Linked DNA regions of Homo sapiens: region 2 is linked to region 1. The links are contacts of gene promoters, found by promoter capture Hi-C in human tissues and cell types (Jung and others, 2019). All regions are on one chromosome and are shown on one strand. The core of a region is centred on a gene start or on the middle of the fragment in contact, and the rest is flanking DNA. Distances in the headings are between cores, read along the strand shown.

Region 1 (3,661 bases), core at 504-3,003:
TCTTAAACACCACACATAAATTTACAGGGATACCTTACCCCAACTGGGTCTTTAAGGTTCGTTTGGGACCCTTTTTTCACGGTAGGTTTCCGGGGTGTCTTAGCTCTCCTGGTCATAGATTAAAAAATAATAATAACTTTTTTTTCAGTTCAACACGAATACAAAAGCCTCACCTAAAACTTATACAATCTTTCTAGGTTATCTGTAAATTATCCCTTAGCAGTTGCAAAACACTGCATCCCAAATAACATTAATAATCATAGTAGCAGAGTGTTTGTGGCATGCGTAATCCAAAAGTAATTAAAATTTGCTTTAGAATACATTTTTGGTACCAAAGCTACCTACTTATTCTCTGATTAGTTCTATACTTAAAATGGCTTGCATATTTTCTTGAGCAACAATTTAACAGAGGCACTACAAATTATAACTGCCCACACTTTACAGACTGACAAGCGATTAACTTCAATACACTATAAAAATGCACATGGAGGAAACCATTCTTTCGTCAAGGGTTACGCCTGTACTTTCAAGGAACAACCAGTCATTGAATGCTCAAAACATTACTCTTTGTCTCCAAACAAAATCTGGTCCCAAACTGCCAATTTCTTGGTTTCTTAAGTAGGGGCAATCAAAAAGTTATTTTGATTGATTTCACCATTTCTCTAGCATCTCATCTTTTTCCCTTCACATTTATCTATAGGCTAGATATACATTTAACACATTAAAATTAAGTAAGATTATTGGCTTCGACTGTAGTTTAAAAATATTTTTCCAAACATATTCTCAGATGAAACACAAGCAAATTCGTGTTATTCAGTGCAAAATACTTTGTGGTGGGCTTAAGTTAAACTCAACGTATATTTCTTATATATAATTTTTTTCATCTAAAGATTTTGACTTCGGCCTCTTAATAAACAAGTTGTCTTTTGCAAACGACTCCCTAAATGGTAATAAAGCCAATCCTCTCCTTTGCACGACAAATATTTCTTTACCCAGGAATGATGCTGCGCCGAAAATATTAGCTTAGGAATGTGGGCGGAGGTTCTCTGCGGCCACAAAATACAGCAGAAGTAACTGGCCTGTGTAAGCGGATGGGCTCGGCCTCAAGGACAGGGTGCTCGGCTGAAAAAAAAGCTAGCGGCGATCACCGGTGCCAGGGCTCTCCAGAAACGGAGCCCATCTAACCAATGCCCAGCACACTCGCTCTGCTCCACACACGAGACCACCTCCGACCCGCACTAAGTTGGCCAACTGCACTCTGGAGGCGGCGGCAGCCAGCGAGGGAGAAGGGAAAGGCTGTCCCGGGACCCCGAGGAGGACTGCCCCGCCCCCGGGAACCGGGTGCGGCGTAAAACAACCCCGGCTCCGGGCCGACCCTTCCTGGCCCCTTGGAGGCCCAGGCGGGGCGGCGGGGGGCGACGCGGCAGGGGTCTCCGCGCCCAGGCTCCCGCGGAGCGGCCACACGTGGAGGTTCCCACTTTGGGGTCGCGGCCGCAGCAGCACCGGGCGGGATGCTGTCCGCGCTGCCCGCGTACGGCCGCGGCCTGAGTGGAGACGCCTGCCCCCAGCCCCGAGGCCTCGGCCCCCGTCCGCCCTCTCTCCCTGCTCGGCGGCCTCGTACTCACGCTGACTTCATGGCAGCAGGCTCCACGCCGCCCAAACGCGCATGCGGGACGGCTGGCTGGCGAAGACTGCGGGACGTTAGGACCGGCAGCAAGAACTAGAACTTCGCGGCTAAGGCGCGGTGCTCTGCGAAGCCGGCGGCGACGCTAAGAGCCCAGGTGAGCTCCCGCCTGGCGCATTTCAAACGGGCCAATCAGCGCCCGTCCGCAGGGAGAGGCAGGACCTCCGCGGAAGTGACTTCGCTGCCGGAAGTGGCGCTTGTCTCCTAGGCGACCGACGCTGAAAGGGCCGCGGAGTCGCGTGTCAGGGCTGGAGGGAGATCTTGAGGTATGGTATTTAAACTCTTCCGCCTTGCGATGACGAAACTGAGGGTTTCTTTTCCTCCATCACAAGAAGTTCAATGGAAGGGCCTTTCCAGGGTTGATTCAGAGGTCGGAATGTCGTTCTGGTGAAAAGTGTTGTATTCCTGTGCTGTGCCCTGCTCCAAGTCTCAGGCTCCGTCTCTCTGGCTCCCAAGTCACCACATTATCTTGGCGTCTTTTCTCTCTCTGATTCACCTTTCCTGGGTTTCCCTCCAGCTCTGTCCTATATGTACATTATTTTATCAAATCTTTTTTTTTTCCTTTTTTATTTTTTGAGGTGGAGTTGCTCTGTCGCCCAGCCTGGACTGCAGTCTTCAGCTCACTGCAACCTCCACCTCCTAGGTTCAAGCAATTCTCTTGCCTCAGCCTCCCGAGTAGCTGGGATTACAGGCGCGCACCACCACGCCCAGCTAATTTTTGTATTTTTAGTAGAGATGAGGTTTCACCATATTGGCCAGGGTGGTCTAGAACTCCTGACTTAAGGTGATCTGCCTACCTTGGCCTCCCAAAGTGCTGGGATTACAGGCGTGAGCCACTGCGCCCGGCCTGTTTTATCAAATCTTGATTGTGTTTGATCCTGGCCTTACGGAGATGAATAAAATTTGGTCCTTACCCTTAAGGGGCAACCTTTTGAACCTACTCTTGCCTTAGATGAACTGATTCTATATCACTTCTGTCTTTGACCCTAAGCCGATGACTACCAAATACACATCTACACCTGGGCTCTCATGGAACTCTAGCCCCTTCTCAACTTCCTAAAGGACCACAGCACTGGTAAGGATAGTCACAATGTCCTTGGCCAATATTGTTGGTGCTCAGGAAACGACACCCCAGAGTATGGCTCTTTGGCACACTGAGTGCTTTGAACTAAAGAAGACTGAAAGTGCCTCAGAGAAGCCTTAAAAGCAAAGTCTGTCTCTGACTTTCTCCTGCCCTCTTGTCTCCCACCCCTCTGTGTCTCCTAAAGCAAATAATAGAAACCAGAATTTCTGTTCCCCAAGGCGGGTCATGGAAACTAGAACCCCTTTTCTCCCAAGCAAGCCAGAAACATTATTCTAGAAAAACCTAGAAATATTAATCTAGCCTTCCCCCACCTTTTTGTGTAAGAGCTGGCCATAAAGACATTCTTTGATGTACCTTGTCATAAGACCCTCGTTCCAAAAGGGTCTTGCCCTACACTCAGGAAGAAGGAAAGCTGCACAGAGAGGCCAAGAAGAATCTGAACAGACAGGACTTGCTGGATTCCTCCTTCAGTCTGTTACTATTAGATCATACTCCTTTTGTACAATCACATTTCTACACAGCTGTCCATTCTTCATCTCATCTAAGCATAAAAATGGACAGCTTTCCCTGGGTCTTTGGGTCTTCATTTCTGAAGGCACTTACATCCCATAAAACTGTGATTCAATAAGTTATCCATTTATCTTGCTAACCTGTTTTTTGTTATGGTAGTGTCAGCTGTGACCCTTAAGATGGGTAAAGAAAAGTATCACACCTTTTCCACCCCTACATTGCACATTAGGATGGTTCCAACTTTTCCTATTACAGATACAGCTATAGTGAATGAATGTGGAAATTTATACAATGCAGGTAAATATGTAGGAAACATTTCTAGAAACAGAATTGCTGAGTCAAAGAGTATACATATGTGTAACATTTCACAGATATTGCAAATC
Region 2 (3,948 bases), core at 516-3,015, 54 kb after region 1:
TTCCATTTTTAATACCTGTGCATCTGTTTTAATACTAATAAATGTCTTTGCCCCCAAATCCTCAGGTAAAACTACCCTCCAGGCAGGCAGAGCCACTATATTTTCTCTATGGCTTCATGAACCCTGGGCATGATGCCCAAAAACCCAATAGTGGATGCTGGAGCCCAAGGCAGATTTTGAAGCAAACGGTGGCTGCAAAGTGTGATGTTGGTCTTCTGCCTCTAGCTAGTGCCATTTCACTAAAGATATCATCATCCTCTAACTTACGAAAAACTGGACAGAGAGGACATGTTCATCTTTCTCCCTTAGCCTCTGCCAGGGTTGTCCAGCCCTGACATTCAGAATCTCCATACATTCAGATTCCCAGCAGGTTACCCAAAGGACCTATTGATACCACTCTGCCCCCTTCACTTCTTTCCTGCGGACATACTCTGAATCCAACCCTGACCAAAATGTCCAGAAAGATATCTAAGCAGACTCCCATAACCTCTACCCCCAAGACGCTCCCCAGTCCCCCCACCATCACCACCTGCCCCATGATCTCCCATCTCTAGGCCTTTGCTCACACTGCTCCTTCCACCTGGAATGCTCTCCCCACTTCCACAATCCTGTCCACCCCTCAGATCACCCCCTTCATGAAGCCTTCCCTGATCACTTCCTCCCTGATATAATTTGGCTCTGTGTCCCCATTCAAATCTCATCTGAAATTGTAATCCCTATAATTCCCACATGTCAAGGGAGGAACCTGGTGGGAGGTGATTGGATCATGGGGGTGTTGTCCCCCAAACTGTGAGTGAGTTCTCTTGAGACCTGATGGTTTCATAAGTGTCTGACAGTTCCTCCTTCACATCATGCTCTCTCTTGCCTACTGTCATGTAAGACGTGCCTCTTCCCTCATGATTGTAAGTTACCTGAGGCCTCCACAGCCATGAGGAACTGTGAGTCAATTAGACCTCTTTTCTTTATAAATTACCAGGTTTCAGGCAGTTCTTTATAGCAGTGTGAGAATGGACTAATACACTCCCTCGTGATGGAAGTGACCAATCCCTTCTCTGAAACAATCACCCTGTCTTAAGATAGACCCTAACCCACTTTAGAAAAGAATTTCTCATGCACATTTAAAAATCTTCCTGACCAACATATGAGTCACGCAAGGACAGGATTTGTATGTAATTATTCTCTGAATCCCTTGCACATAGTAGGCAGTCAATACAAATTTCATGAGTAAATAAATTCAAGAATCACACTGTGTTCCCACTAATCACAGCTGCTAATGCTCTATGGGTAGAACCAACCAGCAAAGTGCACCAAAAGGAGAAGGTGATTGCCCTGTGAGAACAGAGGCAGGTGCTCTGCCCAGTGTCATGGGAGACAGCCACACGTGTAGCTTGCCTATTACTTGCCACATTCCTCAGCTCACCCCACCAAACAGCTCTGCACCACTTACGGTTTTCCCCCATGCCATCTTCCTGGAATCACCTGGCTTCACAGGCTTTTAGGGTTAGGGTTTGGCAATTTCCCCCTCAACCTTCCATTGGTGATGTTGAGTTTATTTCAAACTTATTTTTCTGGGGCAAGTCATAAGTGCTTGGTAATCAGCCAAGCCAAGTAGAACTCTCCTCCACTCTGTCACATCTTCCCAAAGAAACTTCCCACCATGAAATGACACCCACTTTTCTTAGTCAAAAAGGAAGGAAATTTGACATCAACAAAGGGGTGCAACACAATGATGTTTCCTTTGCAAGAGAAGGAGGAAGTGCACCAGTTCTCTGTAGCACACAACCAGGCTCACCTATGGCTTAGTAAAGCAGATCATCAGTGAGTCTCACATATTTCAGGGTACCTGCCTGTGAGCTCCCAGGCCCATGGGTCCACTAAAGGGCAATGCTAAGGCTCATTCAACAACCCTCCCCATCGCCCCAGTGAAGGCCTGGCCTGGGCATCCTGCAAGTAATGGGGATGAGCAAAGCCATGACCTGGTGTGCCTTTGCCCATAGCCTGCTTTCAAGCACCCATAGGAGGGGCCTGAAAAAATAAACTTCCTACCCAGCCAGCTGCTGCTGGCTTTATCTCTTCAGGTTGAATCTCAGTAATGACTTTGCTTCTGGATAACACACAGATGTTGCAAGGAAGGGTTACAACTTAAACAACTTTGGGAATACTTCCATTTCAAGGTAGGTGGGGGAAGTAGGAGGCTGTAATATCCCCCAAGGAAGTGTGGGAAGGGGTCCTTGAAGGGAATGGGCCTGTACAGAACAGACTAGGTGAAGACAACAGCCCCCCATTGCGGAGGCCAAGCCCTGGTCACACTCTGGAAATGAACCATCATAATCAATAGAGCACATACCTGGGGTATCTGGTCTATGCTAAACAGCCTGGGGAGCTTCAGGCTCAGCATCTTGGAGCTGGATTGGCAAGGCCAGTAGGTGACAGCGCCTCCCTGTTACCAGGCCTCACTCAAAGCTCTAACATGGCCTGGGGCGTCTCTGCCTAGCTGGTGCTGTGCCGCTTCCCTGAAAGAGGACAGCATGAAGAAATCCAGTCAGTTTCAGCCTAACTCCAGCTGGGTCAGGACAGTCAGCTTGTTCAACTATTGAACATATACTTGCTACACATGATGGCACAAGATCAAGCTTCCTTAAAAACAGCAAAATGATCAGACTGCTGAGTCATCCACTCCAAGAGTGCTGGAGGGAGGTAATTAATAATAAGGGAGGAGACCACCCCTCATATTGTCTTATGCCCAATTTCTGCCTCCAAAGAAAGAAAAAGTAAAATCTAAAAGGCAGAAATGAAATCCACAAGCAGACAGCCGGCACCACACCCTGGGCCTGGTAGTTAAAGATTGACCCCTGATCTAATCAGTTATGTTATCTATAGATTACAGACATTGTATAGAAAAGCACTGCGAAAATCCATATCCTGTTTTGTTCCCATCTAATTACCAGTGCATGCAACCCCCAGTTACATACCCCCTGCTCGATCAATCAATCACGACCCTCTCACACGCACCCCCTTAGAGTTGTGAGCCCTTAAAAGGGACAGGAATTGCTCACTTGGGGAGCTCGGCCCTTGAGACAGGAGTCTTGCTGATGCCCCCCGGCCAAATAAACCGCTTCCGTCTTTAACTCGGTGTCTGAGGAGTTTTGTCTGCGGCTCATCCTGTGACAATAATATGGGCAATTACTATGGTCTGAATGTTTGTGTCTCCCCAAAATTCATGTGTCAAAACCTAATCTCCAATGTGGTGACAAGGAGCAGGGCTTTTGGGAGGTGACTAGGTCATGAAGGCTCTGCCCTTACGAGTGGGATTAGTGCTCATAGAAAAGAGGTGTGAGGGAGCTTGTTCGCCCCTTCCACCATGTGAAGACACATAGAAGGAGACATCTATGAGGAATGGGCCCTCACCAGACGGGGAATCTGCTGGCACTGTGACCTTGGACTTCCCAGCCTCCAGAACCATTAGCAATAAATTTCTGTTGTTTATAAATTACCCAGTCTTAGATATTTTGTGATAGCATGCCAAATGGACTAAGACAGTGATCATAAAATTGCAGAGCTAAGGCCAGGTGTGGTGGCTCATGCCTATAATCCCAGAAATTTGGGAGACTGAGATGGGACGATCAGTTGAGCCCCAGAGTTCAAGACCAGCCTGGGTGATATAGTGAGACCTTGTTTCTACAAAGAAGAAATTAAAATTAGCTGGGTATGGTGTTATACTCAAGGGCGGGCTAAAGTGAGATCACTTCAGCCCAGGAGGTCAAGGCTGCTGTGAGCCATGATCATGCCACTGCACTCCAGCCAGAGCAACACAGCAAGAATCTGTCTCAAAAAAAAAAAAAAAATGCCACAGAGCTGAAAAGAAAAGGGCCTTAGAGGTCACCCAGTCTTCTCATGTTACACATGAAGGTGGGAGGGGCGGAATAACTTTCCCAAGGCCGCACCGCA

What was found. The method cuts DNA at HindIII sites, captures the fragments that hold promoters and counts their contacts. A contact is called where the count stands out against the background at its distance.
Region 2: a contact is called between a fragment that was not itself captured here and the fragment with the promoter of KIF23 in region 1, in 2 of the 25 tissues and cell types used here (mesendoderm cells and pancreas).

What each region holds. Positions count from the first base shown.
Region 1 is chr15:69,412,441-69,416,101 of GRCh38, reverse strand. KIF23 (kinesin family member 23) reads right to left here and starts at 1,753. Exons shown (of 24, transcript NM_001367805.3): 1 at 1,626-1,753; 2 at 39-108. The coding sequence starts at 1,636. KIF23-AS1 (KIF23 and PAQR5 antisense RNA 1) reads left to right here and starts at 1,073. Exons shown (of 2, transcript NR_132971.1): 1 at 1,073-1,950. RefSeq lists silencers at 1,354-1,433, 1,464-1,583. The HindIII fragment of the contact is 14,046 bases long and covers 1-3,661 here.
Region 2 is chr15:69,358,531-69,362,478 of GRCh38, reverse strand. It overlaps PAQR5 (progestin and adipoQ receptor family member 5), which reads right to left. Exons shown (of 9, transcript NM_017705.4): 3 at 2,348-2,513. The coding sequence starts at 2,398. Among named protein-coding and RNA genes, the nearest start is that of KIF23, 54 kb to the left of the region's middle. The HindIII fragment of the contact is 4,443 bases long and covers 1-3,948 here.